Linked DNA regions of Homo sapiens: all the other regions are linked to region 1. Evidence: promoter capture Hi-C in 16 types of primary human blood cells and fetal thymus (Javierre and others, 2016). All regions are on one chromosome and are shown on one strand. Each heading gives the region's core, a stretch centred on a gene start or on the middle of the fragment in contact. The rest is flanking DNA. Distances are from core to core; before and after follow the strand shown.

Region 1 (3,899 bases), core at 722-3,221:
TACACTGCCATGTAGTCAAAAAATGCACCATCAGTGACCTCAGATATAGGCTTTTTTAAGATTTCTAGATCTGGAAGAGACTTCCAGTCAACAGAAGACCAAGAAGGAAGATCCCTCAACAAAAAGTATCTCCACAGAATTGGATCTCTTACAGTTTCATTCCAATAATGATTTGTACTTCCCAACTGACACAGATCATGAGGTGAAAGAAAGGACAAAATATATAGCTGTACATCAATCTGAAACAGAAGAAAGCAGCAGGTAGGAAAAAGGAATGAAGAAAATAGTTTTTGGGTGATAAACCACATAATCAACAAATAAATAACAAAAGGTCAACTGACTAGTATTTTTAATAACTAAATCTACCATTAATAATTAAATCTATTATTTTCCTGCTATCAGCAAAGGATCATAACTGAACATTTTAGTTTCGTAGTTGTTAAACATTTAATTTCTGAAACACCTGAAACATTCCTGAAAAAGCAACCACTGTCTTGCTATTTTTCCAGCAAAATCACCAGTTCCTTTAATTTTTCCTCAGAGATATTTGGATATACCAGTTAGTTACATAAATTAGTTAAGGAAATAATTTGTCCTTCAAAATAAAACCCATATCAACCTTTATCTGATTTTATCATCAGACCAAATCAAAGAGTGTACATTTGTCTTTTTCTTTTTTGAGACACAGTCTCGCTCTGTCGCCCAGGCTGGAGTGCAGTGGCAAGATCTCGGCTCACTGCAAGCTCCGTCTCCCAGGTTCACGCCATGCTCCTGCCTCAGCCTCCCAAGTAGCTGGGACTACAGGCGCCTGCCACCAAGCCCGGCTAATTTTTTATATTTTTAGTAGAGACGGGGTTTCACCGTGTTAGCCAGGATGGTCTTGATCTCCTGACCTCGTGATCCGCCCACCTGGGTCTCCCAAAGTGCTGGGATTACAGGCGTGAGCCACCGCGCCCGGCCGTAAATTTGTCATCTTAGTTCCTCTACAGAATCTATTAAAATGTTATGAAAAACCTCTGCAAGGAGAAACTTGGAGGCATTCTAAACCTGCAGCTTTCACGTTGATATACACATTGGAGAGAGGTGTCAATAGTCCAAATGAGACAAAGAATTGTAATAATTTTCAATAATTTTTGTTCTCTTCATTTACCTATCTACCCCAAAGTTTAACAATAAGTTATGTGTGTCATTCTCGTGGCCTTGATGTAACTTGAGGCACTTGTAACTTAAGTCATTTATTTTCAACTGAGGGGCCGTTTTGTTTCTTCAAATACACAATAACAGCCACAGGCACAATGTCCTCTTGAGAGGGTAAAAACCTTGGCCCTCCAAGTGTTTTGGTACAGTGATCCGGAATCAAAGACGCTGGGAACAGGGACGCTGGAATGCTTTCCCAAGCTAATCAGCAAGTTGGGAACTGTCTCATTTCCGTAACCGGACATTCAGGGTGTCCTAGTCACATGTGCCTGTTTTGGCGGGTGGAAAACCTGAGGGCGATCGGGAGGGTCCCCAGGGGCCCCATGAAGGTGCTTCCCTGAGATGTTCGGGCCCCCTGCGGAGCACCAGGGTCCACGCCAAGACGCTTCTGATCAACTGTAGCTTCTCGGTGACTACACTGCCAGGAATGGCTGCATGGACGGAGCCAGACCCAGGCCGGGGCGCGAGAGTTCCCCAGGCCCCGGGGGGCTCCAGGGGAGGTCCCTCCGGCCCGGGCCGGCCCCACTGTCCTCCGCGGCCTGCGGCCGACGCTCACCGGCAGCCGCGTCAGGGTGCTGGCCGCCTCATCCACCTCCTCCCGTGAGGTCGTACGCGCCACCCTCTCCTTGCTCACTGACTGCCAGAAGGTCTTCCAGCCGCTGAGGATGGCCGCCTCCAGGCGGCCCCAGTCGCTGAAGGGCGGCGGCGGCGAGTTTGTTCCGCTGCGCGGCTCGCTTCCCGCCATGGCTTGCCCGCAGCGTGGGTGACGCGTCTTAGAGCCACGCTAGCGCGTCAGCCTCCTGCGCAGCTCCGCGCCAGCCGAGGGCGCCCTCGGGCGTTCCGCCTCCCGCTTCTCCCGCGAGTCCGCCTCCAGGGCAGGGTTAGGCCCAGGGGCAAGGGCGGGTACTGGGAGGAAGCCCACTGTGCGTGGCTGTGAGCCGAGTACGAAGCTCCTGTCAACAATTAACTTCCCCAGTAACTTGTGGCCTCAACCTCAGCCACGCCAACCGCAGAGCCCCTGTACAACCTCTGGCCCGCTGACTTCCTGGCTTCATTCAAGATGTTCTCTCCGGGATCATTTCCACTATGCCTGGTCCTAGGCGACTCCGCTTGTTCGATAGACCTCTGCCACTGTCTTGGGCTTAATAACCACTTGCTTCCTTTTCAGCACTACCATACTACGTATGGGGTGTTTTTTGTGTGTGTTATTTCCTCAATCACCAAGTTACCATTTATTTTCTTGAGTATCAGCAAAAACAGACTAGAGAGGCAGTCAGCGGGCCAATTACAAAGAACCTTTTGCCAAAATGAGAAGTCTGGACCCACTATGCAAAAATATAAGCACATTTAAAATTTGCAAGGGCGGCAAAAAACGGCTAGAAGAACCCAGATGTGGTGGTGTTGAAATCCCACTAGTGAGTTTTTTAATTCTCAAACCAGATGCCCATTCTACTTACTTTGGGCTTACTTTAAAAGTGCTTTAAGAGAACGTATTACAAGTTAATCTGTTACATAGAACTGGGTATGTATACATTCAAAAAGTAAATCTCTGAGGATCTAAATGTCAACAGAATCCAAGAAAGCCTGATAACTAAGGTTCTGCAAGGCTCTGTAACATACAAGTTTAAGTTTCATTACATTTTATTATTTGCATGTTGTTGGTAGGGGCCAATAACCAATAAAATTGCAGCCTCGTTTTTGGGAGGCAATCTGGACAAGGACCACGGATTAACCATATGGCATTTCTCATCACTTTCTAGGACACGATTTACTTTGAGAGCAAAAAACGAACTAGAGCAAGAAAAAAAATCAGTTCAAGTATAAAGTATTAAAATGATATCTGTTAAATGAATGAGAAAAACTTTATTACGGAAAATTTTGAACATTTATAAAAGGAGAGTGAATAATATGCTCCTGTGTGCCCAGTATCCAAGATTCCATTACCAACACCTGGTTAATCTTGTGCTGTTGCTATACTCACCTAATACTACACCCCCAATTCTGGATCCTTTTGAAACAAATCCCAGACCTATCATCTGTAAATATCTCAGTATCCGTCCCTAAAAAAAACAGATTTTAAGAAACAGACCACTGTACCTAAGCAATTTTAATTCATTAAAATCACCAAATACCGAGTCAGTGTTTAACTTCCCCATCTGCTTTGAAAATAATTTTTCACATTTGATTTGTTTGAATCATAGCCCAACAAGGGTCACACATTACGGATACTCTTAAAGCTTAAGTTTCATTGTATAGCTCCCCCTCCTTTATTTTCCCTTGATATTTGTTAAAGAAAGCAGGTTGGTCTTTCTGGACCACTCTGGACTTTCTTTTTTCTATATTCTTCTTCTTCTTTTTTTTTTTTTTTTGTTAGTAGAGATGGAGTTTCACCATGTTTTCCAGGCTGGTCTCGACCTCCCAGGCTCAAGTGATCCTCCTGCTGTGGCCTTCCAAAGTGCTAGGATTACAAGTGTGACCCACTGAACACGGCCTGCACACTATTAATGGCATCTCAATAGTGTCTTTAACACATTCGTAAATGGTATTATATACTGAGACTGAAAGCTACAAGTCATTCTCATTTTCTAATGTTCGGAGTGATCAGTGGTTTCACTGGGCTGATCCATTCAAATTTCCTGTAAGTTTTTCACCTCAAAGATAGAGCATTTATCAATGAATATTATTTGCTTACAAGTTATAAA
Region 2 (3,948 bases), core at 4-2,503, 850 kb before region 1:
AATTCCAAGGAATAGCCTCCAGTTTCACTCTTGATATAAAAAACAATGATTCTCTCTATACAAGTTGCAAAATCCTTCTACTCTCACAAATACTGCTATTGGGTACCTCCTGAGTTTGTTCCTGGGGAGTTTTCTCCATGAATTTTAGATGTGTTCAGAGGTTTTGAATTAGCAAATCTGCGTTGTCATAGTTTGCTTTGGGCAGCCCCTAAGTAAGAAATTCAGACTCTTGGGTTGTGGTGTTTTCTCTTTAATTTCTTCCCCTCTGAACATTCCTGTAGTATTCTCAACAAAGCAGTATCCTAGTGCTTGAAGTTTTAGAAAGGAAAGCAGGTCAAATTTTCTCCCCCTGGTTCCCCACCCCAATTACAACCTGACTTTACCATCTATTTTTGAGATCTAGAGTCAATATATTAAAAGGATTGGGAAAGAATAAAGGGAAAAAGGAAAAGAAAGGGGGAGAAAGGGTAGGATTCATTTCAGAAATACTTAAAAACCATCTCAAAATTGGTGATGAAAAGCTAAATTTTCTAAGAGCATAGCCAGAATGCTACTTATTACTGTACAGGATTAACCAGAAGTTCTGGGCAGATTTCTTCAGAGGGTCCTCAGATGAGGAACCAGACTGAATTTAGAGAAGATTCTTCAAGTTGAAAGCTCCTATAGATTCAACTTGAGTTTTGAGGATCTTTTGTCTGCTAGAATTTGACATATTAGCTCTTGAGAGATGAGGAAGTTAGCATAATGAACCTCTCAAAGAGCAGAGGGAACTGACATTTATTTAGCATCTTTTATGCTTTTTACACGCTGTTCATGTGTTCTACAACTGCTGTCACTACACTGTTCCTACAGGAGATAAGGAAAAGTAGCAGAGGGTATGGTGGCTCCTGGGAGAGAAATAATTTGTGATCCACATGAAATGCCCCCTGTATTGGAATGGTGTAATGATTACCCAAATCATAAAGAGTATAGATTCATTTACATTATAATAAGAAAGTTCACAAGTAGTAACAAATAGAGTTTACTAGAGTAAAACCTCTATTAACATAATTGAAAATTATGTAGCAAAATAACTGCATCTCTTTTTGGTAGAAAGAAAAAGTAATGCAAGTTATTTGTTAGTACATTATATTTTGTAAAAAAAAAAAACTCTTAAAACTAGTATTGCTTTGAAAACAAATTGTCATTTACTAAAGATTTTGGCATATATACGTATATCTCCACACACACACACACCCACAAACATTTGGCTGTGTTTATTAATTTAAAAACCTCTTTTTTTTTCCTAATTTGAAAAGATAAATCTCCACAGGGACTTGACTGAATAGAATGATACATAAACTCACCTGTTCATGAGACTTTAACTTCTCTTTTATAAGATCAGCACTTATTTTTAGTTGTTCATTTTCACCTGTGTAAGAATAATCAAAGAACATCATAATATATAGCACTTTTCAATTAATATGAAAATATGTTCAACATTTTAGCTTCCATTATGTATGCATTCAACAAACATGCATCCAGCAGCTGCTACACTTCAGGCACCATGCTAGACACTGAGAATATGAAAGTGAAAAGAGTTACTGCTCTTCAAAGAACTTACAGCCTAGTGCTGAGTCAAATGTGTTAGTAGTTATAATATGCTATGATAATTGCTCTTTAATGGCAGTATATCTGAAATACTACAGGAACCTGTAAAAAGAAAACCTAGGGCAGCTTGAAGTCAGGAAAGGATTTAGAGAAGAGAAGCTACTTGAGACGAGATTTAAGTGATAGGCTTACCCCATGTTAAGAGAGAGCATTCTAAATGCAGAAAATCGCACAGAAGACCATGGGCTTGAGTGAATATAGCTTGGAAAAACTACAATTCACGTACGGTATTGTTGAAGTGTAAAGTGTGAGCAGGAGATGCTATATAGGTTGGGATCCTATCACTAGGTAGACATATTCTACATATTCTAGATGAACAATTTTGGATTTTGGTTTTAGAGGTTACAGGGAGTCATCAAAGAATTTTGAATAGTGCAGAAGTGAAATAATGAGAGTTACATGCTAAAACGATTATCTGGCAATGTGGATGATGAATGAGAGGGTTTTGACCCTAGAGGAATGGAGATCAGTAACTATAGGTCAAGTAAGAGATAACAGGAACCTAAATTACGTCAGCGGCAGTATGGAAAAAAGGAAGCAATGAGGAGAATTATTATTTAGATGATAGAATTACCTAGGAATTTAGTGACCCTTTAGATAGAGGAGGCAAAAGAGAAAGGGGGAGCCTTTTCTTTTTAGGTTTTTGGTTTGGGTAACTGAAAACAATACCTTAATATTTTTAACAAATTTTAAAAACCCTGTGGTTAATTTTGATTACTAAACATCCAGGTCGGTTTAAAACTGTAATTTCCTATTTGATTGAAAGTTTTCATGATCCTTATCACTGGCTAGATCAGTGGCTGTAAAGAGTCAATAGAAGTGGGAAAGAAGTCTTAGTTTCCTCCTTAGTTGCTCTTCCCTGTCTTTCCTCTGGGTCATCTCTTGGGGGGTGGAGACAGGAAATGAGGAGAGGTAAAAAATTCTCTATTTAACTTCGAGGTTCCAGTCCTTTAGGTGGTTGTAGCAAATATATGCAGTCTGGACTCACTCCAACATTTGGCGACTTTTTAGCAGATGTCACTAGAATATGGAAATATGTAGCTATTTTGTTGTTAATTGTGGCATGTGCCCTAGTCACTAATTCCTGGTAAACAGGAAAAGCCTCAATAGACATCCTATTACAATTTCCCCTCTACAACCTTAACTATAAACACAACCAAGAAGTAGTTAAACAAAACAACAAATCAGTAAAGATTTTTGACATTATCTGAATAATGCTTTTAGGAAGGTTTGTTTTGTGGTATAGTAAAGTTGAGAGGAGCCTTGGAAATAGAGTCCACTTATGAAACTATTGCAGAGGTATTAAACCACAGTATTAAAATTAAAACCTTGACTATAAACAAAACTAAGAATTAGCTAAACAAAACAATGACAAATCAGTAAAGATTTTTGACATTATCTGAACAATGCTTTAGGAAGGTTTGTTCTGTAGTACAGTAACATTGAAAGGAGCCTTGGAAATAGGGTCCACATATAAAACTTGCAGAGGCATTATATCAAAGTATTAAAATTAAGTAAAGATCTAAAATCTATTAGTTTTCAAAGGTTGTGATGAGAAACCGATAGGAAAAGTGTTACACTTTTAAGGGTCATATTTAATACAAATCTTAATTCTGATGATGGTTTCAGTTTGTCAGATTGTGTCTTTCAAGAAATTAGTCCATTTCACATAGGCTATCAAATATTTGAGTTGAGCACAGAGTTGTTCAGAGTATTCCTTTATTATCTTCTTCTTCTTCTTTTTTTTTTTTATATTGAGATGAAGTCTTGCTCTTGTCCCCCAGGCTGGAGTGCGATGGCGCGATCTTAGCTCCCTGCAACCTCCCCCTCCTGGGTTCAAGCTATTTTCCTGCCTCGGCCCCCGAGTAGCTGGGATTACAGGCACACACCACCATGCCCGGCTAATTTTTGTATTTTTGGTAGAGATGGGGTTTCACCATGTTGGCCAGGCTGGTCTCCTTTATTATCCTCTTAATGAACATGACATTTGTAGTGATGTCCTTTCTTTCATTTCTGATATTATTAACTTGAGTAATCTCTCCTATTTCCTTAGTTCATCTGGCTACAGACTTGTCAATTTTATTGATCTTTTCAAAAAAACAGCTTTTAGTTTCATTGCTCTCTATTGATTTCTTGTTTTCAATTTTATTAATTTCTGCTTTATTTTTGTTATTTCTTTTTTTTACTTATTTTGGATTTAATTTGTTCTCCTTTTTCTTATTTCCTAAAGTGGAAGCTTAAATTAATTTTAGTTTTTTGTTGTCTTCTCATATGCACATTTAACGCTATAAATATCTC
Region 3 (4,094 bases), core at 445-2,944, 800 kb before region 1:
TGAAAAAGGGAAAAAGTTAAAATCTGTTTCAGCAAGCATATAAAAAGTCACTGTCATAGAGAAGATAATGAATGCTCTAAGACATCCAGACTTTCAGAAAAATGTCATATCTGAGTTGAGTTGAGAAGAATCTGTGTTTATTTTAATCATGCAGCTCCTTCGCATTCAATTTTTAGGAAGTTTTATTGAGAGTAAAAATTTAATGACATCATATAAAAGGTTTTGTTCAAATTCACATTCATCTGAAATTTAATATAACTTTATTTTGTGCCAGGTGTGTTACTCTGCTTATACGGTTTTTCCTAAGTGTTAATAATATAATACTGGGTATTCTTTAACTATTTCTCATTATTAATTAGGAAATAATGTGTTAAATTTAAATGGATTTCTTTAAACTGTAGAAGCTTTAAAATGTCAAGATGCACTATGACTCTCCCAGATGGGAGTGTAGTATGAGATGTTTTCCAAATTTATTTGACCACAAAATTATCCATTCAAGGGCATTTTGGAGATAGATATTCACCAGCGTACATACTGGTAAATCTATACTAGCCGTTTGTCAGGTGAGCTACCAAAGTAATGTGATAAACACCATTAAACATGGTTCAGAAGAAAAAATCACTGATTGGATGGTGGGAATCAGAGGAGAGTTCATGAAGGAGGCATTAGAGCTGGGCCATGAAGGATGAAGGGAATCTTGACAGGCAGGGTTGGTAAGTGGGAGCTTTTTAGTTGAAGGAGGAGGCATGACCAAGAACATAGAGATGGGAAAGCACAAACTTTGTTCAAGAAATGGCAAGTGTCTTTTGCTACATATGCAAGGGGATCTTCTTAGGCTCAACCACACATTCCCCAGATTCACCATACTTGGTTCCAGTCTACTCAGAGGGATGTAGGACAGAAGGGATACAGCATCAGGCTTTCTGCTTTAGAGTCACAGTAATGATAACAGTGCATGAAGCAATCTAAACAGCTGTTTATATAGCTATCCAGAAGGTCTTTTCCTTCCTCTCCTCCTACAACTGGCAGCTCAGATTCAGAGAAGGTATTGGGCAGGTAAAGGAGTCTCCCAGGCTTAGAAGCTCTATGCCTCACTGGAGCCAGTTACTCTTGTTACATCTCCAGAAACATAGCTTCCAGAGTTTCTATAGGGGAAATGCTTAATTACAAGTCACTACACTCAAGTCCAAAGTATAACTTATCTCCAGGTGGTTATAGTTTCTCCCTATCCAGATGTCATTTATCAGTCAGAGATCATTTAAACTATGAGCAATGTTTCCCGTGTAACATAGCTGACATCATATGCTCATTAGATTTCCACAGCAATAGAGTTTGAATGTTAACCAAACATCAAATTCTTATTCAGAAGCTGTGCCCTTTACATCTAGGTCTTAAATTTTAAACTCTCAAAGGAGACTGGGGCAAATTATGTGGGATCTTGGATTCCAAACTAAAAAGTTTAGATTTAAGTAACTTCTGGTTTTTCTGGTCACTATTTCTTACCCTAAAACAAGCACATAACAAGACATATTTTGGTATACAAATATGTAAATATGTAAATATTATAGCACTTGAATAAAGTGTTAGTAGAAACTTTGAGAAATTGAAATGCTGAAAGATGTGTGTAGCCATTTTCAACACACCATTAATCTTCTGAAATAGAATTGTGTTATTTCAATCCATGGAAGTAGGCAGGCTTTCTTTTCCCTGTACTCCTCATATCTTAAAGCATCTATATGAAGAAGCCCTGAGGCTTCACTCCATGGTTCTTTCAGGTAATGGCTGCTCACAGGGCAGAGGGCAGCAGGTGAAGACATTTTTTTTTTTTAACATAACACTTGAGTATTATAAAAAGTTGTGGCACTTTGCATTTGACTTGCTGAAGCAATACGTCATTGTTTAGTAGGTTTATCAATGTCCTCACCAGATTCCTACATCTCAGAATCCAGTGCCTGCTCAGGAGCCTAGGGTTCAGCAGCTACCTCACCTGCATCCTGCCTCCTGCTGTAGGAATCTAAACTTCATGGCTCTCTCAGGCTCCTACACAACTTACCTAATCAGCCTTCCTCCCAAGCCTGACTTATTAGCTGATTCCCATGATAACAAGCAGCTAGTCCAATAAACTGACTTAGGCCAATGGGTGAATGGCAGAGGAAGAGCTGCTTTCCTTCCTTCCAGACAACATGCTCAAGCTGGAAATGTAAAGATAATGCTCACATATCACTCTCCCTCATCCAACACCCATGTCATTTATTTTCCATGATGCATCAAATACACAGCTCTATGAACCTTTGCCTATGGGGAGTCACAGCCTAAGGGGAGGGCCAAGCCAGTGGGATATTTCTGAGTTGGGCTTTTGTCTTCTCAAAAAATAAGGGAAGGGGGATATGTTTCCCTCTCTATATCTCAGCACATAAAAATCTCCATACCCAATGCTGATGTATTTGATCCAGTGGTGCTAAGCTCTCCTTACAATGATAATTCACAGTATACAGAGTGGTTTAGATCATTTTTATGTTGGTGTTTGATAACAGAAGCACACTATCAGGAATCCAAGAAAATAAATTTATTAAACTTTGAAGGAAAAAATCCACAGACATAAAGAGAGTTAAATATAAACTGCCAGACACAACTAGTCATACTAGTGAATAATGGCTTATGTGGCCACCAAAGTACCAAAATGACATTCTGAGACTGATTGAGGTATTTAGCTATTTTTGGCTATAGAAATGTTGTCAGGCTGTTGTGAAATAGTAAGATAGTCTTCCAAACACACAGCTTTGAATTGAATTAGGTTCTACACTGATGATACTTTATATGAAACTAAATTATGTAGCTCTTGGAGAAAACCATAGCAGCAAAGTAGCAGAAAATCTATCAAACATCTATTACAAATAACATGTTGAACTTTAAACACTCAATTCTAGCTTTTCATAGTCCTTCCTGCAAGAGAGAGAATTTAAAATTATCAGCCATTAAGCTTGCTTCCTAAAAAAGGTCTGCGATAAATGGGAAATACTATTTAAGTTAAAGCTAACTTCAAAGTTTTAAGCTTTTTTAAAAAATGAGAAGTATTCTTCACTGAGATGAGATTCTTCTTTTTCATAAACCTTTTCAGGAGATATCCCAATGCTCTCAAGAATGATGTTTAGGGCTGGGCACGGTGGCTTACACCTGTAATCCCAGCACTTTGGGAGGCCGAGTCGGGTGGATCACGAGGTCAGGAGATCGAGACCATCCTGGCCAACATGGTGAAACCCCGTCTCTGCTAAAATACAAAAAAATTAGCCTGGCATGGTGGTGCGTGCCTGTAGTCCCAGCTACTCAGGAGGCTGAGGCACGGGAATCGCCTGAACCTGTGGGAGGTGGAGATTGCAGTGAGTCAAGATCGCGCCACCGCACTCTAGCCTGGCGACAGAGCGAGACTCTGTCTCAACAACAACAACAACAACAAAAATGAATGATGTTTAGGATATTAAGGGATTGCAAAATGATTTCTAAATTACTGAGGTTGCTTCTTTTTCTTCTGAATGCTTGCTTTGAGGCCAGTCCACTCAGAGAGGAAGTAAAAAATGATGAAACTTCTTCTTTTGCTATTTTAAATAAATCCTATAAAAGATTTAGTGAGAAAGAAAGTTTCTTTTAGCGGTTTAAATAATTTTCAGTTATCTGTGGGGACTGAAAACCTTGTTTCTTCTGTCTATGTTCTGTTCATTATCATGAAAAATGAGTATGTGTCTGGTTATAGGCTGTGAAACAAAAACTTATTTCTTGAACTCTTTGTTTCATTACCCAGTTAATTTCATTCGATTTGCTTCAACTTACAAAATGCTTCTTGTACCTTATTCCCTTCCTGGATAATTATGTAGCAAAACCAAGTTGGGTGTGAACAGATTCCGCTGCAGAGGCTATAGATCTTATCTCTCACCATCTGCACGCACTAAAAAACTCACTCCGCGTGCAATTGCAGCACTTAAGTATCTTGGTCAGTGTGAACCAGCTATGATTTCTACTTCTCTTAGCATGTATTTTTTTTTGGCATCAACCAAGATTTGGTGAAGAAAGGTTTTCTTTTTTGCTTTTACTTCTTTTGG
Region 4 (4,253 bases), core at 185-2,684, 880 kb before region 1:
ATTACAGATCAGACACTATTAGTATCTGATATGCCAAATCCGATTGGAGTTTTTCTATTTCATTGTCTCCTAGATACCACTGATTATTTGACATATTATCTTATGTAGTATTTAGGAAAAAAAAATGCTGCTAATTAAAGTAGGATACAGTGAGAAACCACCACCAACAGTATGGTACATTCTAATTTTAGAGATATTAAAATCTAAAGAAATATGCATCACATAATCAGTAAAATATAGTAATTCGTTTCTGAAATTAGACTACTGGCAGGGTGCGGTGGCCCACGCCTGTAATCCCAGCACTTTGGGAGGCCGAGGTGGATGAATCACGAGGTCAATAGATCGAGACCATCCTGGCCAACATGGTGAAACCCCATCTCTACTAAAAATACAAAAATTAGCTGGGCGTGGTGGCACGTGTCTGCAATCCCAGCTGCTTGGGAGGCTGGGGCAGGAGAATCACTTGAACCTAGGAGGCGGAAGTTGCAGTGAGTCGAGGTCGTGCCACTGCACTCCAGCCTGGCGAAAGAGTGAGACTCCGTCACTAAATAAATAAATAAATGAAAGAAATTAGACTACTACCATAGGTATTTGTGTTTGTTTAAACCTTGAACACTTTGAACATTACACAGTATATTTTAAACATGTATCAAATTCTTTATAAGTTTGTAAGCAAACATTATTAGCTTCTAATGTAGAAGTAATTCAGAAATAACCAAATAAAGTACCACTTAGTAGTTGTATGCTAAAATTTAATGGAATTTATAACCTTTTAAAACCTTCAAAACATCAAAAGCATATCACTTAGTGAGTCTTTGGGTTCTAAGTTGATTTTGTAATTTTATTTGCAAATTAGCCTTAGGTTGAGATTTACTGTTACATTTCTGTATCTATAGGCTTTGAGTCTCTGATTAGTAGGTACCACAAAACAGTAAAGACTTCCAGTAAATTAAAGAACTAGGATCATGCGGAATGGATATTATGGTCAATGGGAGTCGGGCAGTAATTTGCTATTTTCAGCTGACAGCCTTATGGTAGGGAGACATTAGCAAAGCTTTGGTGAAGTTCAAAACATTTCCTGGCATAGGATGAAGTATGAAAAACTAACACATTTGAGCAGAGTTTATTAGCATTTTTGAATTATCAGAGATAATATTAGATTACAGTATCATATAGTATTAGATAAGATGCACCGTTGACACAGGTACAGAAGTTTCCATATAGTTCAACTGATTTTTTATTTATTTTTTATTTTTTTGAGATAGGGTCTGACTCTGTCACCCAGGCTGGAGTGCAGTGGCACCATCTGAGCTCACTGCAACCTCCATCTTGCAGGCTCAAACGATCCTCCCACCTCAGCCTCACAAGTAGCTGGGACTACAGGCATCTGACACCACACCCAGCTAATTTTTGTATATTTTGCAGAGACAGGATCTCGCCATGTTGCCCAGGCTGGTCTCCGACTCCTGAGCCCAAGTAATCTGCCCCCCTCGGCCACCCAAAGTGGTGGGATTACAGGCATGAGCCACCATGCTCGGCCCAGATCAACTGAATTTAGGATTTGATATTACTTTGACTTTCCTGCAATCCAAGTTCCTTTTGCCAGTTTACTTCATTTGCTTCTGCAAATATAAGTACAGTGGTTTGGCTTTCTTTTTAAGCCTTTAATAAAATGTCTAGGTGTTGAGACTAACATCAGACTCTTTCTCATTAATATAATACAAAGCCAGCTCGATTCTAATTAACTAGTTGGAATTTCACATGTTAGCTCTACAAATCATTTTTCACGCATTATTCCTATCTCTATAAGCTTGTTAAAAAGTGATTTATAAATTTGTTCCAGACTCTCAAAGATGAAGACTTTTGTAAACGTGTATCTTTGGCTACTGTGGATAAAACAGTTGAAACTCCATCGCCTCATTACCATCATGAGCATCATCACAATCATGGACATCAGCACCTTGGCAGCAGTGAGCTTTCAGAGAATCAGCAACCAGGAGCACCAAATGCTCCTACTCATCCTGCTCCTCCAGGCCTTCATCACCACCATAAGCACAAGGGTCAGCATAGGCAGGGTCACCCAGAGAACCGAGATATGCCAGCAAGTGAAGATTTACAAGATTTACAAAAGAAGCTCTGTCGAAAGAGATGTATAAATCAATTACTCTGTAAATTGCCCACAGATTCAGAGTTGGCTCCTAGGAGCTGATGCTGCCATTGTCGACATCTGATATTTGAAAAAACAGGGTCTGCAATCACCTGACAGTGTAAAGAAAACCTCCCATCTTTATGTAGCTGACAGGGACTTCGGGCAGAGGAGAACATAACTGAATCTTGTCAGTGACGTTTGCCTCCAGCTGCCTGACAAATAAGTCAGCAGCTTATACCCACAGAAGCCAGTGCCAGTTGACGCTGAAAGAATCAGGCAAAAAAGTGAGAATGACCTTCAAACTAAATATTTAAAATAGGACATACTCCCCAATTTAGTCTAGACACAATTTCATTTCCAGCATTTTTATAAACTACCAAATTAGTGAACCAAAAATAGAAATTAGATTTGTGCAAACATGGAGAAATCTACTGAATTGGCTTCCAGATTTTAAATTTTATGTCATAGAAATATTGACTCAAACCATATTTTTTATGATGGAGCAACTGAAAGGTGATTGCAGCTTTTGGTTAATATGTCTTTTTTTTTCTTTTTCCAGTGTTCTATTTGCTTTAATGAGAATAGAAACGTAAACTATGACCTAGGGGTTTCTGTTGGATAATTAGCAGTTTAGAATGGAGGAAGAACAACAAAGACATGCTTTCCATTTTTTTCTTTACTTATCTCTCAAAACAATATTACTTTGTCTTTTCAATCTTCTACTTTTAACTAATAAAATAAGTGGATTTTGTATTTTAAGATCCAGAAATACTTAACACGTGAATATTTTGCTAAAAAAGCATATATAACTATTTTAAATATCCATTTATCTTTTGTATATCTAAGACTCATCCTGATTTTTACTATCACACATGAATAAAGCCTTTGTATCTTTCTTTCTCTAATGTTGTATCATACTCTTCTAAAACTTGAGTGGCTGTCTTAAAAGATATAAGGGGAAAGATAATATTGTCTGTCTCTATATTGCTTAGTAAGTATTTCCATAGTCAATGATGGTTTAATAGGTAAACCAAACCCTATAAACCTGACCTCCTTTATGGTTAATACTATTAAGCAAGAATGCAGTACAGAATTGGATACAGTACGGATTTGTCCAAATAAATTCAATAAAAACCTTAAAGCTGACTTCGTTTGTTATGTAGGCTGTATGCATATATTGAAAACAGAAGTGAAACTTTCGATTGCTTTTAAATAAATACCAACTAATGAATTTACTGCTAAGCTCAAAACCGTCTACGCTTAAGGTGAGAATCTTTGCCAACAGAAAGGCGTTGCTCTAAATCGCGAATGGTATTACGAAGAATTGCAATCTCCTTGTTTTTTTCTTCTTGAAAATGCTGAAGTTTCTAAACGAAACAAAAAATTTGTTATTAGAATTCAGAAATAAAATTTAGTACAAGGAACAACAAAATAACAAAGAAATGCACTTCTGCTATTGGTATTTTAAAAAATACCTTATATTGTTAATAAGAATTAGATGATTTTTATAGAAACATGCTTAGAAAGTTTTCTTAAGCAACAAATACTGAGAGGAAAACTCACATACCCTTCTGTAGATACTTTGTGGCAAAACAGTAGAATCCTGATATGATTTTGATTTAGTCTGAACTCTTGCTAGTTTGGCATCAAACTGAATCAAATTGAAAAGAAAGTTATTGAAACTCTAGACAATTAGAAACAATTGTTTCTATAATTATAATCCATGTTATCCTTTGACATGTAATCTGTAATTCAGGTGTAAATTACAGTATAGACAATAGAAAAATCTTTCTTTAAGAAATAATTTTTCAGAAAGAGCAAAGAACAGAAAAACAAGATTAACCCTGATTGCACGGCAAAATTACCTGGAGAGGTTTTTTTTTTCTTTGTTTCTAAAGTACCAAATGCCTGGGCACTACTTTAGAGATTCTGGTGTGCAGCTAGCGTCATCTTTTTCTCAAAACATCACGTGATTCTATAGTGCAGACAGGGTTTAGAATCTAGTTTAACTTAAATATAGGTAAAAATATTTTTACGTTAAAATGAGTGTATTATAAAGAAAATGTAATAAACAGTCAAGGAAGAAAACCTCACCTAGCTTTCT
Region 5 (3,925 bases), core at 1,270-3,769, 950 kb before region 1:
CTACTCAACCTAGGGTGTCTGATATCTTCACCATCTTTATTTGGGAGTTAAGGCCTTTCTTTTCCTTAACCAAGTTCTAGGAAGAAAAGGTCCAGGACTTGTTTTCATTAGCCTGTCTTTCATGATGTACCAAGGAAATGAGTTACCTTAATTTAATCTAATTAACGTTTTTGACCTATGTGGGTTGGAGTCAAAGCACCACTTGAAACACGTGAGATGTTTTTCCCATAGGAAAGGGAAGTTCTATTAGCAGAAGAAGGAGGGGAAAGACATCTGCTGATCAGAAGAAAATAACAGATGTGATTAACACGCACTACATAGTTCTGCTTCCTGCTGTTTTCACTTAATGTTGTATACTCATCACTTTTTCATATCCTCAAAAATTCTTTGAAAATCTGATATTTTATTACCACACAATATTCTACTTTATATGGACAGTCTATTGGTTATCAATTGCTGCAAAATAAATTACCCTCAACAGCGTAAAACAACAAAAAATCTATTATATCCTATAGTTTCTCAGTGTCAGGAATACCTGAGTGGCTTAGCTGGGTAGTTTTGGCCACATTCTGTCATGAGTTTGCAGTCAAGCTGTCCGCTAGAGGGAAGATGTTGGTCAAAGGGCACACAATTTCAGTTATATAAGATAAATAAGTCCTAGAGACCTACTGTACAGCATAGCACCTGTAGTTAAAGATACTGTATTGAATACCTAATTTTCTAAGAGCATAGATCCTAAATGCTCTTATCACAAAATAAAATATAAAATAAAAGAGGCTCCTGCTTTTTGTCTTTCCACATTCTGCCCCAGGCCATCTCCCAGGCCCTGGGAACATCTTTGGCTTGTGCAAGAGCAGATCAGAAGTGCCAGGGGTTAAAGCCCTTGAGACCAACCCTTGGGAGAATGGTGTTGGAGTATTTGCTCCGCCTTCCATCTTTCAGGTGAACCATTCAGAGAAAGTCTGTACACCACTCAGAAGTCCCAGCAGAATTGAATCTCCATTGCTGATGGCAGGGACCTCAGTAATGCATCCTTACATGAGCTCTCCCTGCTTCCTCATGTCCCTCTCCAAGCTCCCTTGACCTGGTTCCCTAGTAGATCTTTTTAAATAAACTGCTTGCACCTAGTCCTTGTCTCAGGGTTTGAGTTCAAGGAAATACAAAACAAATCACCCTTTAAAACTATTTTTAAAAATTATATGGCATCAATATTTCAAACAGTTATGTAGCAACCATCTTGTTGAGCTAAACTCAAAGTCCCAGAAAAGGGAACAAGGATTCTTTACTGTCATACTAAGTAAATGTAATATTGTGTACATACCCTGTCTTACTGTGTTTTTGAATTAGTTAAAAGCCATCTCCATATTTTCTTAAGTAAACACATTATAGCCAATTGCACAATAGATGCTAACAGAAAACATTACTTTTCAGATATGGAATGTTCTAAGCAATATATTTCAAAGATTGTAAGAGATTTTCCTCCAAGAAAATGAGAGTAATTAAAATCCTCCGTATTTGGCATCCTCTTTCCTGGGATGATTAAGGCCTCCAGCTCTTGGCAGGTCAAGCCATTAAGGAAATCTGTGTGGCCATTTGAACAGGAAGGATTATACACTGACTACAGTTATCACTGGTCCAGAGGTAGAACATGCCAAAACTACTATTCAGGATAATTTTGAACTTGCTGATATGTCAATTTCAGTAAACAGAGTAACAAAGGACAGCCTGAAGTTTCCTGGGCTGGTGATGTGTGAACCCCCACGATTCTATGCAAGTCCAATTGCTAGAGAAGTGGCTTCAAATCAACTCTAAATTACTTTGGGCATATAGGAGGAGGGGAAGGAAGATGGCTACTCCATTAGTCCTCTTTATCCTTAATTTTTACAAATTGTGTGTATACTTTACGCAGTAGAAATTTACACTACAAATTCTGAATAAATCAACATGCTATCATTGTTTACCATCACTATAAAATGGTGGAAGAGTAAGTCCATTTATTCATGCAGAGATGAAACAGTTTTAAATTTATATTTTAACCTCATTAAAATTCTCAACTTACAAAAAGAACTACTAGCCAATCTCTTAGCCCAAGTGTCTGTTAAAACACTTGTTTGTTTGGGAACTTAACTGAAAACACAATTCTCAAGGAAATTGGCAGAATTATAACTATAAGCTTATAGTGACTCAATATATATTAAAAAGTTAAGGTAAAAAATATAAGAAAATGCTAATATGTAAACACTGCAAATATTTTAGTGAAGTAGAAAATACTTCTATCATATAAGGAACCAGTCTAATTTATGCTTAGATTTTTCACATATTGAATTTTGTGGTCAATGACTAATTACTCTTGTTTCTAAAATGAATGACATAATTTTAGCTAAAAGCATAGAAACTTGGGGATCTAGCAAGCATTTGCAGCATTATAGTGAGCAAATGAAGATATGCTTTTTAGAAAACACTATCTTAAAGAAACTTCTCAGACTTTTATTGTTACTTTCAAGGACACCTTGAGTGTCTGAAGACTCTAGATTAAGATCCACTGGTTTGGCTTGCAGATTCTTTCTCTTGGAAATCTGCCTGGGTCATATGGTGCAAATCAAGGCTAGGGCCCTGGTAACCTAAAATGATCACCCTCCCAATGCCTGACTATCATAAAGATCATAAAACAGCCTCAGAGACGAGTTCATAGCAAAGTCCACTCTAGAGGCAATTCTCTTACAAGTGGATCCTGCAGGGCGATATGTTTGATTAGCATTTATAGACTGAAGTTTCCCTTTGTGAGGTCAGAGCTGGACTGTCTGCTGTTCCTGCCTGTGCTGAGGCCTGATCATCAGCTTGGCAGTAGGTCACCAGGAAGCTTTACTTTAAGTTCCAAGACAGAGAATTTTAGATTTTCTGCTTTCCAGACTACCCACCATCCCCATGGAAATGGAAATCCACTCCAAATCCCACCTAAACACACACACACACACACACACACACACGCACACACACACACACACATGCATGAGCAGAAAATAGACTTATTGATACACTTTCCTGAGCACAGGCCTACAAAATGCTTTTTCGTTTTTGACATCTAATGATTTAAGATGTGGCCTATACCTAGAGAAGAGCTAAATATCAGGACAAACATTCTCTTCTTTTTCCTAGTCTTTTCTTCTTTTTCATTGAAAAAGCTAAATGCTGAATTCACAATTTTTATAGTGAAGCCAGCTTATCTTTTTCAGATCCTAACACTCAGACTCTTAAGTAGCTGGCTTTAGTTCTTAAAATAAAATTGGTAACTTTTTTCTCCTAACTCACCTTTTTAAAAAAACACCCCAAAGGGAGTTCTTTTTGCATTTTGGGCAATTCACTTTAGGATTACAATAATTCAAAAAATGTGTGAATATGTATCTTGGTCAACAGAATAGCATCTGGAATTCCAGCATGCAACCTGTCAGTGTAGCAGAGACATCTGGTTTCTGTGTAACCGTAGTGTTTGTTTAGTTTTCTTAACTCTACGGTGGACAAAAGGTCTGTTGCTATAATTTGATACTGAAAAATTTTCAGGGTTAGCTTTCTTGCTCGTCCCTTCCTTTTTTTGTCTCTATTTTATTTTTTTAAGTTTAGAGTCATAGTACGAGGATTTTCAGGGATATTACTGATATGACTGCCCCAGCAAGAACACTACCATCACAGAGATTCTGCTTTCATCCCAAGGACAACTCTGATGCCTTTCACTTTCTGTGCTCTTCCTACTGGCTTTGAGTCCTCAATGGTTAGAAGGTCACTTGCTTTAAAGAGAACTTGATAAAACAGCCAAGAGGGACTCAAAGGTTTGAGCTCTCTGTTTCCCTCTGGTCTTTGTCCCAGACCCCTCCATATGCTCTTGAGTTTAGCAGGCCTCTGAATTACCAAATACACAAAGCTAACCAAT
Region 6 (4,070 bases), core at 1,455-3,954, 730 kb before region 1:
AGTCCTGATTCTGAAAAGTTTTCAGCCTGGTTGGGAAAATAAGACTTATACCTATGAAATAAGCTGAAAATAAAACATTTTAGGACCACCTACTCAGAAGAATACCCAGCTACTATTAGGTGGGAGGATCACTTGAGCTCAGGAGTTTGAGGCCAGCCTGGCCAACAAGCAAGACTCCACTATAAAAGCAAGAAAAAGGAACATTTTAGGATATACTGGAGTAGCTATATAAAACTTCATAAGGAAAGGGAAACACCAGTATGTTACTGTAGACTTATAGTACTTCATAGAGAAGTTACAGTAGGAAATAGAGTGACAAAAAAGGGATAGAGATTAGGAAGTTGATTATAACAGGTATTATACTTCTAAATTCCCATTATGAGTGAAGAGAAGAGGTCAGGTGCATATTGGCAAGTATCTACTTATCCACTAGTGGACAATATCCCATTGGACAACTCTCAAGAATAAAAGGAATAAAATCATGGTCCACATTTTCCTCTCTCTCTTTCTAGCCAGGATCTCTGCTTACTTCTAACCATCACCAAAGGATAGATGGCCACTTAGAAGAACTAGAGAAGCCGTATTCATTTCTGGCATTAAAAAGGACTCTAAAAACACTACTTTGGCAGAGAAAATCATTTATATGTAGACACAGACTCTTAGAGCTAGAAGAGACCTTAACAGTCACCTGGACCTACCATTTCATTTTAGATATGAAGAAAATGATGCCTCCAAGAGAGAAATAAATTGCCCATGGTCACACTACTGGTAAGAATCCATGCTGTGTTTTGCTGCCTCCATGAGGAAAAAATCATGGTCACTAAACTGAGATGATCTCTTAATGATTACTCTTATATATTTACTTCATATCCACCAACTGCTAAGCCCCTACCCAGTTTCCAAATGTCACATTTATAGAAAATGAACGAAGGTTGATCCTGAGCCCTAGATTCTATGACACAAGATTAAGACCATGTTCAGGGTTACAGTGATAAGAAAGGTCCCTGACTAGGCATTTTGTAAACTTATAAGAAACCAGAAAAAAAGAATCATTTTGAGTACTGATATTCAACTACATAATGGGCTCAAAATTCCTTGTATAATCAACATACTTTATTACACTAGATGGCAGCAAATAAGTAGCTAGATATATAGTCAGTTAATCAGGAAATGGAAAACAAAATGAAACTACACAGAGATTGGGTCTAAATTTGCTGGAATAAAGTAAATGTCCATGAGCATTAAGCTCTTGCATGCTCCAAAACATTCTTGAAGAAGGCATGATTGTATATATTTTTTAAATCAAGCTTCCTCCTTACACATAGTAGGGTGCTAAACAATGTGGTGAATTGCTGCAACTTTGAATTGTATAACTGCTGATTCCTCGCCAGGTAGGGCAATACAATATATATTTTCAAGATTTTTTTCTCTGGCCATCAGAGGCAGCATAATAATAGAGAATGGGGGATGGACAGGAGTGCAAAGATAGGCTTTAGAGGTGATGTTGCAAGATACGACATCAGGATTCACAGGACAGAAAAGAACATTAACAAGAGCTGGCTGTGAATATTGGCAAACAGGTATTTGAAATTAAATAAAAATAGAGGCTACAGTTTACTGTCTTCAAAATGGACCATGCAAGACAATCCACTGGGTAATGAGAAGATACTAAAATGTTTATTTATATGTGTTGTTTATATAAAATAGGAAACAAATGAAAGTTTTCTAATATTGAGCATGTAAGAGTTGCATAAAGCCTTCAGTCAGCCTGTGTCTGAGTCACATGTTGCATTTGCTATGAGAGGAATTTTGCAGGAAGAGTGGGAGTGTTACCGTTCAGAGGGGTTGTTTGTAGTATCTTTAGTTACCTCTTCATGTAACATGTTAGAACATGTTTTTTGCAGGTTCTGTATGACTGATTTTGTGGATAGATTATACTGATTTAAAATTGATTTAACTAATAATTGTATAACAAATAAGTGAGTTAAAAAGATTCATGTAAAGAAACTTCATACTGAAGGTAAAACTAATTATGCAAGCCCAAATCAACAATAAGAAAATGGCTGGGCTAATACTTTTCTTAACCCTAGAATAAGCTTTCATCAACTCTAACCAAATCTGATAAGCTGTCTTCCAAAATAGGAAATTATCCCAAAGACTATTTGAAATAAAGATCTACTCCTACTGCTGTTAAGAATGAACCTTTAACTTAGTATACATTGTGCTTTTTTCAGAAATGAGACAGTGTCTCATTTCGGTAGACAGTGTCTACTAATGCCAATTTTATATTTTATATTAAACCAAATTTATATATATTTTATGTTTGACAATGAACAGAATATATTAGAACCTTGTACATATATATAACTTACAAATATGTAAACATATGTATCATGTGTTCAAAAATTACTTTACTAATGGGATGTAGAATACAAATTTTAGTGACTTATGACTGAGCATAACCCCGTCATACATGAATGAATAAAATGAGGCAAGAGGCTTAGAGTCTGCCAATGTCACCACGGAGCAGCAATGTCCAAATTCTTATTATTCAAACACTTTCTGTTCCATTCTACTTTGCTTCCACATCTTCCTCAGGTTTATCTAATTAGGTAACATTTAGGTACACAAATCCAAGGCAGAGCCCTGGGCTCCTTATCCTCTTACAGCTCTCCAAGTGCCCTCATCCTGAAATAATTGCTCTGTTAGAAGCACAAAGGTGTGAAAAATATTAAAGGAGCAGCATCTGCCCGTCAAAGAAAATGCAACTATGTGGAAAGGAAGGGCCCAAATATTAGAGCAGAAAGACACTACAGGATAAGCTAAGCACTTATTCTCATAATGAAATATTTTTGGATGAACGTCCATAAAGCAAGAGAATTCCTAAAAATGTATTCGCTATTTTGGACTATATAGGAGAATGAGGAATGGCTTAAAAATGAGAGGTTGACTTGGGGCTGGAGAAGATAGTCTGGCATTCAGGGGCAGACACAAGGGGATGAGGGGATGAGAGGAAACCCTTTCAGATGAGGAGTTTCAAGGCCATGATAATTTACTTACATGTTGGCTCGCTTTTTCTTATAGAGCCTTGCCAAGTGGCTGCAATCAATAGTCTGCACAAACTAGGCTGCAATCATAGTCTGCATAAACTCTGCTAGAGTAGGTACGTGCTCTTCCTAAATGCCAGTGCTTGCAAAATGTGGTCTTGGGAGTCTGGTCCACCTGCAGCAAAACCACTGGGGTAGCTTGTTTTTAACATCAAGCCCCTGAACTCCACCTCAGGCTACTGAGTCAAACTCTGGGACAAGCTTAGGAAACTCCATTTTTGCCCCCTAGTTGATTTATATCTTTTTGGGTCTCAACTCTCAGGCAGAATGTGCTGTCTGGTAAGCGGAAAAGGAGAAAAGACAAGATCAGAGGCTCTGCTATTGGCCTAAGGTAATTAGAGGCTCACATTTGGAAGACAGTGTAATATTCATGTTATAAGATTTGGTGAGACGTAAAACAACTTCTGGCTTATAAAGGAAATTAAACACCAGAACTGGATAAGTTTAAGGAGAGATTACAAATCTTCATCTTGAAAAGAGGGACAACTTGTTTTGGGTCTTTCGGGACATGCATTTGCCTACATGGGGGGCAGGGCATTGGTACAGAATCAGTTACTATGTGAAACTATGTTCCATAAATAGAGACGTTTAATGCTCAAGAAAACCACAGAAGACAGTTTGTATTATTCTCATTTTATAGATGGGGTAAGTAAGACTCTGAGAGGTAAAGCATCTTACCTACATTCATTCAGTTAGTAAGAGACAACGATGGAATTTGAATGTGCATTCTGAAATTTACAACCTGTGCATTTTCACCTGCCTTGTCCTACTACCTGTCTGGTTCTAAAATTCAGGGTACCATTGGTTAAACAGATGAGGGAAAAAATAAAAGCATAGAAGAGATAGGAAAAAAGAGTGAATAGCTAATGTATCTGGCAAAAAGGAAATATGCAGTACTCACTGGGAGCATTTGATAGAACTAAAATAACTCTTACAACACTGGGGAGAAAAGGAATCTTTTTA

The links. The method cuts DNA at HindIII sites, captures the fragments that hold promoters and counts their contacts. A CHiCAGO score of 5 or more calls a contact.
Region 2: a fragment that was not itself captured here is called in contact with the fragment with the promoter of FBXO4 in region 1 in 3 of 17 cell types (M1 macrophages, M2 macrophages and M0 macrophages); the score reaches 7.5 in M1 macrophages.
Region 3: a contact is called between a fragment that was not itself captured here and the fragment with the promoter of FBXO4 in region 1, in 4 of 17 cell types (M1 macrophages, M2 macrophages, M0 macrophages and 1 more). The highest score is 6.3, in M1 macrophages.
Region 4: a fragment that was not itself captured here is called in contact with the fragment with the promoter of FBXO4 in region 1 in 1 of 17 cell types (M1 macrophages); the score reaches 6.1 in M1 macrophages.
Region 5: a contact is called between a fragment that was not itself captured here and the fragment with the promoter of FBXO4 in region 1, in 4 of 17 cell types (erythroblasts, M2 macrophages, megakaryocytes and 1 more). The highest score is 8.7, in erythroblasts.
Region 6: a contact is called between a fragment that was not itself captured here and the fragment with the promoter of FBXO4 in region 1, in 2 of 17 cell types (naive B cells and total B cells). The highest score is 11.3, in naive B cells.

Annotation. Positions count from the first base shown.
Region 1 is chr5:41,923,353-41,927,251 of GRCh38, reverse strand. It overlaps FBXO4 (F-box protein 4), which reads right to left and starts at 1,971. Exons shown (of 7, transcript NM_012176.3): 1 at 1,754-1,971; 2 at 4-239. The coding sequence starts at 1,942. RefSeq lists a silencer at 1,534-1,713. The HindIII fragment of the contact is 6,278 bases long and covers 1-3,436 here.
Region 2 is chr5:42,776,921-42,780,868 of GRCh38, reverse strand. It overlaps CCDC152 (coiled-coil domain containing 152), which reads right to left. Exons shown (of 9, transcript NM_001134848.2): 5 at 1,347-1,411. Among named protein-coding and RNA genes, the nearest start is that of CCDC152, 22 kb to the right of the region's middle. The HindIII fragment of the contact is 5,271 bases long and covers 1-3,888 here.
Region 3 is chr5:42,720,282-42,724,375 of GRCh38, reverse strand. It overlaps GHR (growth hormone receptor), which reads right to left. Exons shown (of 10, transcript NM_000163.5): 10 at 2,498-4,094. Among named protein-coding and RNA genes, the nearest start is that of CCDC152, 34 kb to the left of the region's middle. The HindIII fragment of the contact is 2,576 bases long and covers 407-2,982 here.
Region 4 is chr5:42,798,922-42,803,174 of GRCh38, reverse strand. CCDC152 (coiled-coil domain containing 152) reads right to left here. Exons shown (of 9, transcript NM_001134848.2): 8 at 3,717-3,800; 9 at 736-3,516. The coding sequence ends at 3,394. It overlaps SELENOP (selenoprotein P), which reads left to right. Exons shown (of 5, transcript NM_005410.4): 5 at 1,844-3,295. The coding sequence ends at 2,455. Among named protein-coding and RNA genes, the nearest start is that of SELENOP, 11 kb to the left of the region's middle. The HindIII fragment of the contact is 756 bases long and covers 1,057-1,812 here.
Region 5 is chr5:42,878,297-42,882,221 of GRCh38, reverse strand. No RefSeq gene overlaps it. Among named protein-coding and RNA genes, the nearest start is that of SELENOP, 68 kb to the right of the region's middle. The HindIII fragment of the contact is 687 bases long and covers 2,176-2,862 here.
Region 6 is chr5:42,653,919-42,657,988 of GRCh38, reverse strand. All of the region lies in intron 3 of GHR (growth hormone receptor), which reads right to left. Among named protein-coding and RNA genes, the nearest start is that of CCDC152, 100 kb to the left of the region's middle. The HindIII fragment of the contact is 1,212 bases long and covers 2,099-3,310 here.